Linked DNA regions of Homo sapiens: region 1 is linked to region 2. The links are contacts of gene promoters, found by promoter capture Hi-C in human tissues and cell types (Jung and others, 2019). All regions are on one chromosome and are shown on one strand. Each heading gives the region's core, a stretch centred on a gene start or on the middle of the fragment in contact. The rest is flanking DNA. Distances are from core to core; before and after follow the strand shown. Region 1 holds the start of DEF6 (DEF6 guanine nucleotide exchange factor). Region 2 overlaps PPARD (peroxisome proliferator activated receptor delta).

The links. The method cuts DNA at HindIII sites, captures the fragments that hold promoters and counts their contacts. A contact is called where the count stands out against the background at its distance.
Region 1: a contact is called between the fragment with the promoter of DEF6 here and a fragment that was not itself captured in region 2, in 2 of the 25 tissues and cell types used here (aorta and thymus).

The regions. Positions count from the first base shown.
Region 1 is chr6:35,296,175-35,300,026 of GRCh38, reverse strand. DEF6 (DEF6 guanine nucleotide exchange factor) reads right to left here and starts at 2,209. Exons shown (of 11, transcript NM_022047.4): 1 at 2,075-2,209. The coding sequence starts at 2,170. RefSeq lists a silencer at 3,708-3,852. The HindIII fragment of the contact is 30,942 bases long and covers 1-3,852 here.
Region 2 is chr6:35,377,290-35,381,148 of GRCh38, reverse strand. The region is part of intron 2 of PPARD (peroxisome proliferator activated receptor delta); the gene reads right to left. Among named protein-coding and RNA genes, the nearest start is that of PPARD, 37 kb to the right of the region's middle. The HindIII fragment of the contact is 8,220 bases long and covers 1-3,859 here.

The sequences.
Region 1 (3,852 bases), core at 960-3,459, 81 kb after region 2:
AAAAACCAGATTGACTCCAAGGTCTTTTCCCTCATCCCCAAGTCTTTTCTGGGGAGAGGTGGGCCCTGCTTGTATAACTCTCTCGTCTGCTTCCTCCTTTGCCTTTTGACCACTTCTCTATTACTCCTTTGCTTTGCTGGAATCCCCGCCCCCCAACACTATCACTACTTCCTCCTCTTCCAATATTCACTATTATGGGCTTGAAAGGAGCCCCGCCATTTCCGCCCCACCCCCACTTGGCCCCTGAGACTCCCACTGTTAGCCCAGGTTTCCAGAGTTGACAAGTTTTCTGTCAAGTAGGAGGGAACTCTATAATTGATCCTGTGTGACCAGAGATGTTGCTGGCAGTAGGTTCAATATGAGCTGTGATGAGGTACAGACAGTGGACAGTTCAAGCATGCAAGCTCTCCATGGAGTATTTCCCTAGAAATACGCAACCTGTGGGGATGAGGGAGTGGGTAGTGGCCCTTTTAGAGGGCAAGACAGAGGCTCAAGCTAGGAGGCTTTACTGGCTGATGGCACCAGGAAAAGGGGAGCCACTTAAAGGCTGTACTTTCCATGTGAAGGGCAGAGAGAGCCTGGAGAGGTCTCAGTGGCCACAGGTAATACAGAAGTGGAAAATGTTACCCTGGAAGCAAAAAGCCACGGGGGCTGGTATTGTCTGGCAAGATATTAAAGGGACAGGGTGGGAGGTAGGGGTGGGACACAGAGTTTGCAGAAATGGATTTTGGATGATCGACTTTTTTCCATTTATACTGAGGACCCAACCAAATGACATGATCTGCAATACAAGAGATTTAAATAGGATGTAAGGAAGAATCTGCCTGTTAGGAGGTTCTCCCTAGGTGACAAAAGATAGTAGTGGGCTCTCCTTCCTGGGGGAGTGAAATCATCTATTAGATGCTCACAAATCCAGGTAAGGAATTTAACATAGGACCAGTTTGGGATATTCAAGTTCCTCACATCCAAGTTCAGTAAAGTAGGGGGTTGGAACGGTGGTGGGGCACAATAACTGTTCTGTCCCATTCATCTCTCAGGTATCCAGCACCCTCTACCTCGGTCATTAAGAATGGAGGTTTCCTTGAGACCACACGTCTCCTTTGGAGGATGGGGCAGGGAGACACCAGTTTAGTGCCTAGCCACATGCCAGGCACAGAGCCTCACGAGGGGCACTCAAGTACTTGCAGAGTGAACGAAGGCACCCCTATGGCAGGTCCTAGAGAGCTGAGGCCTACCTTGCTCCTTTCCCCCAGTGTTCGCTGATTCTAGTGGCTGAGGGCCTTGCTTCCTCCCCACTAACTAGGGTAGGGAAGGCAGCACTACTGGAGGACTAGAGGAAGAGAGAGAAAAACTCCTTGGCCTCCCAGAAATTGTCTAGGCCAGATGATTGACTTCAGGACAATCATTGATTGGGATTTTCCTGGGCTTAGATTCTCCCCCTTCCCTACCTGAGGTCTCAAGGCCTAAGGTAAGTTTCCCAACCTGATATGTGTGGTGGATAGGGGGGTGAGCTGCGTAGCAGTATAATAGGGTCCTCAGTCCTCACCCACTCCGCAGCTCTGTCCCACCTGGCGGGCAGGGTTAGACAGGCCAGACAGGTTTGGGACTGGGGGCGGCCCCTTTATGCCTCTCTCAGCTCCAGAGGAAATGACTGCCAAGCACTGGCTAACTGTTTCTCTTGAAAGTCAGGAGGAAGCAGCAAGAAAGAGCACACTGCGTGCCCAAGCATGACTCTGTGGAGGTGTGTGTGCTCATCACACAGAGTCTGGGATGTGGCCTGGCTCCTGGCCCTCAGAACCCCATAATGGCCCTCAGAACCTCCTGGCCTCCAGTTGTGGGGCCCAGTTCTGCGCAAGGTTTCTGCACACACTTCACTAGGTCTCTGGAGGGTGGGCAGCGGCATCTACCAGGCTACGTTGGCCCAGTTACCCAGGACCAGCCCCCCGACCCCAGGCCCGGGACGCTGGATGGCTGGGTGCCCCTGGAGTGGCACAGTGTCCACACCTGGCTCCCAGGCGGCAGGGGCTGGTGTGGTGCATCTGCCGTCCTCCCCCGGGTCCCGGGTGCCCCTCACCTTGAGCTGGGACTTGGAGACTTTGCCACTCTTCTCCACGTCCAGCGCGGTAAAGGCGTACCAGATGGACTTGAGCAGTTCCTTGCGCAGGGCCATGGCTGAGGCGCCCGCCCGGCTGGGGGCGGCTCTGACACTAAGATCCGGTTTCAGGAAATGCAAACGGCTGCAGAGACCGCAGAGGTGCCGTGGTGGAGCGAGAGCACCACCTGCCTGCACATTGCGTGAGGCTCTGTGCTGTCGAGAACCCTGCCTGTTGTTCTGGCAGTGCTCAGAGGCTCCACTCCCTGCATGGGAACTGGGGACCAACTCTCCGAGAGCGGGAACCCTCGTTCTGTATCCACGTGGCTCCCGGGGCATGTGAGGCCCTTTTAGAAGCCTCCTCAGACCCGGAGGCTTCTGGAGCCTTCCAGGGCTCCCAGACGCAGCTTGCTGAGGGAAAAAGCAAGCTCATCCTGATATTGGGGTCAGACAGAGTAAAGGTCCAGTCCTAGTTCAACATAGGAGGCCTTGGGTAAGTTACTTAACCTCCTTGAGCAGTTTCCTCATTTGTAAAGCAGGAAAAATGCCTCCGTGTTGTAAGAATGTCTGAGAATGGACGTAAAGCACATAGTAGGCTCTGGGTAGAGCTTTTGGTGCTACTTAACATTACCATGGTGGTGGGACTCCATCCAAGTGGAAGGAAACAAAGGCAACATCACAAAGCTGGAGAAGGAAATGGGCCAGGGCACCTCTCCAGGTCAGGATGTGGCACTTGACTTGCTGGCTCCCTATCCCCTCAGCACTGGCTCTAAACGGTACTCAGAGCACTGCCCACTCTAGCCCCAGTAGCCCTGAAGACACTGGAAACTTCCTGAAACACATGGGGGTGAGCCTTGTGGTGCACCTCAACTTTAAGGGTCCCAGCAGCAGCAGGCTTGGGATTCAGGGCCCTCCATGTCAGTGCTTCCTTTCTTCAGATCCAGTGTCCAAAAGGACTGGGACACGCCCACACCAGGAATGGTGGTCACAGATGTTGAAGACATCTGCTCAGGCCAATTCTAAGACACCTCCCCCTACCCCCTAAGCCAAATAAAAATCCCTCCAAGTAAGGTGCTGGGAATACCTCCTGCCTGGAAGCACGCCCCCGCCCCTCTCTTCCCAAGGAGCTGGTGGCAAGAGTAAATGGGAGCTTTCTAGGCATCCTGGGAGAGGATGCCTGGATCAGAGGAGGGGGTTCCAATCCTAGGAGGCAGGAAGGGGTTGGGGCATATCCATCACAGCAGAGAGAGGAAAAGAGGCACCACCAATCCCTGCAATGTTCCTGTGTAGGCAGAGTCAAACCCAGAGCTTCTTCCCATCAAGTGCCTTCCCCTGTATCCCTTCTTCCCCCTGGAGCTGATCTGGTCTCACCAACTCACTTTTCAGTGGGGTCTGATTGTGGCTTTGAAATCCCACAGCACAGTCCTAGGCACCTAGGTGGGCACCCCCAGAGCTGGGTAATAGAGCCAAGACTTCAGCTCCAGAGGCATCAGACTCTGCTCCTTGAATCTCAGTAACCTTGGCAAAGGTGTCCCCCAGCCTCACTCTAACCTGGGGCTTTGCCCTCTTGGAGAAGCTGACTGTGTGATTTGGGGGTGGCTGGGTTGGAGGGGCTCTGACTACGTTTCACAAGAAAAGGCAGGAAAAGAGTTCCCCCAGCTCAATCACATGAGGCCTGAGATTCAGCCAGAGCCTGGAAGCAGCGGTCACCCTGGTCCTGTTTGGCTACCCTGGAGCCCACCTGCTCAGCTGTGGGCAAG
Region 2 (3,859 bases), core at 805-3,304:
GCCACTGGCTGGTTTTAAGTCTCTGAAAAGAAGATGAGGGACAGAGGCAGGAGGGGAGCAGGAAAATGAGGTGCACGGAAGAGAGGAGATGAGGGGAGAATGCAGAGAGGAACAGATGCAAAAGGCAGGAGCAAAGGAAAGTGGAGCCTGACAGGCAAGGTAGAGACCCTGGAGAGATGGAGCGGTGGAGAGAGGAGAAAGAGAAGTGTGCTGCAGCAGCAATTGCTGCTATGATTTAGAGAACAGGTGCTGCAGGCTGGGCATCAGCACCAAGCACTTTGTATGTATGTGTGCTCCCTGATCCTCTTGCTCCTGCACTAAGTGTTACCATGCCTGTTTTACAAATGAGGTAACTGGTTGGGTGCAGTGGCTCACTCCTGTAATCCCAGCACTTTGGGAGGCCAGGGCAGGAGGATCACTTGAGCCCAGGAGTTCCAGACCAACCTGGGCAACATAACAAGACCCCCAATCTCTACGAAAAAATTTAAAAATTAGCCGGGTGTGGTGCATGTGCCTGTAGTTCCAGCTACTCGGGAGGCTGAGCAGGGAGGAGCCCTGCTTGAGCCCGAAAGGTCGAGGCTGCAGTGAGCCGAGATTGTGCTACTGCACTACAGCCTGGGCGACAAAGTAAGACCTTGTCTCAAAAAAAAAAAAAAAAAAAAAAAAAAAAAACAAACAAAAAAAAAAAACACGAGGTTAATTGGCTCTGAGTATGAATTAACTTTCCCTCAGTCACAGAAAGTGGTAGAGGCAGGCTTTGCTGAAGTCTCCTTAGAAGGGAGGTGAGACATCATTCTTCTGTCTTCTTCTATCTCACTGTGAGATGTGGAACCACGGCAACCATTTTGGACCATGAGGACAGCAGCCACACCCTAAGAATGGCAGGGCACAGAATTGGAAGGAGTCTGGGTTGCTCATGACCTAATGGAGCTTCCACAACTGTCTGAGACTATAGACTACCTAACTCAGTCAGAATCCCTATCCATCAATCCATCAATCCATCCATAAATGCTTCAGATCACAATTTGCTACATTTTCCTCTAATCTTCAGTAATAGATTCCAAGTCACACTCCCAGACATTCTGATTCAGCAATCACTTTGAGATACACTCTCCTAGAAAAATGGAAAATCAGATTCATTGAACAGGTAAAGAAACTATCTGAGACTCCACAGGACAAACCTTGATACCTCAAAAGCAGCAACTGCTGATGACGTGCCCCTAGAAGACCTTGGAGATTAGCAGATGACACTGCAAAGTTAATCTATCATAATTTGGAGAAATGGAAGAAAGGAAAAGTTCATAAAGACCAAGAGAGAGCACATTTGGGGCTATTCCTCAGAAACAGATAAAAGGTAGTCCTAGTTAATTCAGACCAGTCTGTAACAGTGCCAGCAAGTCATCTGAGAAAAAACAAACGAATAGTCCAAGCCTCAGAAAGAGAACAGCTCCTTTTGGGCAAAAGCACCAAGTTGTCAAAGGGACACACTTGCATGCAGTGGCATCAGACAGCATTACTGTTGGGCACCACTGGTTGCAGCTTTCTGTGTGCTAGGAATTCTCTCCAACTAGAGTGCAAGCTCTCCTCTCTAAGAAGAGGGACTTGTGGCATTACTATTTCCGTATCTTCAGCAATAGCACCCAGCACAGTACTGAACACATAGTTGCTTAATATATGACCACAGACTGAGAGCTGTCAAGAAAGAACTAATGGGATTCACGTGGGTTGGGCAAAGATGCCTACTGCAAGCCAGGCGCGGTGGCTCATGCCTGTAATACCAGCACTTTGGGAGGCTAAGGTGGGCAGACCACAAGGTCAGGAGTTCGAGACTAGCCTGGGCAACATGGTAAAACCCCATCTCTACTAAAAATACAAAAATTAGCCGAGCGTGGTGGCGGATGCCTGTAACCCCAGCTACTCGGGAGGCTGAGGCAGGAGAATCGCTTGAAACCAGGAGGCGTAGGTTGCAGTGAGCAGAGATTGAGCCATTGCACTCCAGCCTGGGCAACAAGAGTGAGACGCTATCTCAAAAAAGAAAAAAAAAAAAAAAAAGAAAGAAAAGACGCCTACTCCAAGCCCTAACCCTGTGCCCACCTCTGAGTTCAAGCTGATTCCTGAAATTCCAGCCAAGGGAATTGAGAGTTGGTGCTGTCATTGTTCATCACTCTCATGAGACTGTTATCTGATGGATAATCTGGGGATCTTTAAAGGTTCGATTGCCTTCTCTTCTGAGAATATTCCTATGATAGAGTCTCAAGAGTCCAGAGAATTCAGGCAAAGCTGAGGAGAATGACACAGGCCATTAAGCTCTGCCCCGGACCTATCTCATCTGCCCTTTTTAGTTGTTAAGTCGCAGTAGGGTAGAAATCTTAACGAGGTCAGAAGTGATGGGTGACACAGCTCTAAATGCCAGGTACTGAGTTTTCACATCCTGGTCTCCTCGGAGGCCCCGGGCATACAGAGTCACCTACTCCTAAAGCAACTGCGCCTTTCAGAAGTGCAGCCTTATTCTAAAATTAAAGATTCTCAGGGCCCACTAGGATTATAATTAGTTTGTATTCCTCCACCTGGCACTCAGAGACGCTGAGTTTGGGAAGGGAATGTGGGGCATGCATTCTTAAGTCTGGAAACCACTTTAATTTGCAAGATTTAGTGGCTTTTTCTGGCCACTGGCTTGTTTTAAGTCTCTGGCATCCTCAGCTAGACTAAGAATTGTTACCTTGTGTCCCAGCCATACTGATTCACATTTCCATCAACTTGGCACAAAATGTGCCAAAAAACAAGCTTTCCTGCTGTCATTCCCTGCCTCTGCGTCCCATACCACTCCCAGCACTTGCCTCTACTCAGCCAGAGAAATTCAATGCAATTAAACTACCAACACTGAATGCCCACCAAATGACAGGTAGAATGTAAGGAGTTTCAAGTACCAAGAAAAACAAGACCCTGCTCTCAAGGGGGTCAGAGTCGGCTGAAAAAAGGAGATACGTGGCCAGGCGCAGTAGCTCATGCCTGTAATCCCAGCACTTTGGGAGGCCGAGGCGGGCGGATCACAAAGTCAAGAGATGGAGACCATCCTGGCCAACAGGGTGAAACCCCGTCTCTACTAAAAATACAAAAATTAGCTGGGCATGGTGGTGCACGCCTGTAGTCCCAGCTACGTGGGAGGCTGAGGCAAGAGAATGGCCTGAACCCAGAAGGCAGAGGTTGCCGTGAGCCAAGATCGCACCACTGCACTCCAGCCTGGCGACAGAGCAACACTCTGTCTCAAAAAAAAAAAGATACGTAAACAAGCAGCGACCCACAGAGTGATAGTTACTACAGACAGAGACCCCAAGCTCTGAAGGAGTAAAGGCTGCTCTCCTGGGAGGGATCAAGGAGAGGAGGGGAGACAGGCAATTCCAGCAAAGGAATAAACAGTGCAATTGCGCAGAGGCCTGGCAGCCTCAACTGCTGGGGGCAGCAACCACAGAGGCAGCCAACAGGGATCAGGGTTACTGCATGCCGGACGCTGCCATTTTACAGATGAGAAAGCTGAGTTATGGAAGGGATAAGTAACTTGTCCAAAATCATACCTTATGAAAAGACAGGTTCCAAGCCAAACAGCTGGACCCTAAAACCTGTGCTTTTAAACATTACAGTACATGGTATGCAAATAGTTCAATTTGCTGAAGTGTAAAATTTAAGAGCTAAGTTTATGCAGGAGAGGTAGAATGGGCTGCATCATGAAAAGCTTCATATGACACGCTAAGCATTTGAACAAACTTTCAGTAGGATACGGGACTAAATTAACGTGAAAGAGCTTCCCCTTTCCACCACTATCACAGAAAAATACCAGATAAAATAAAACAAATGACGTCCG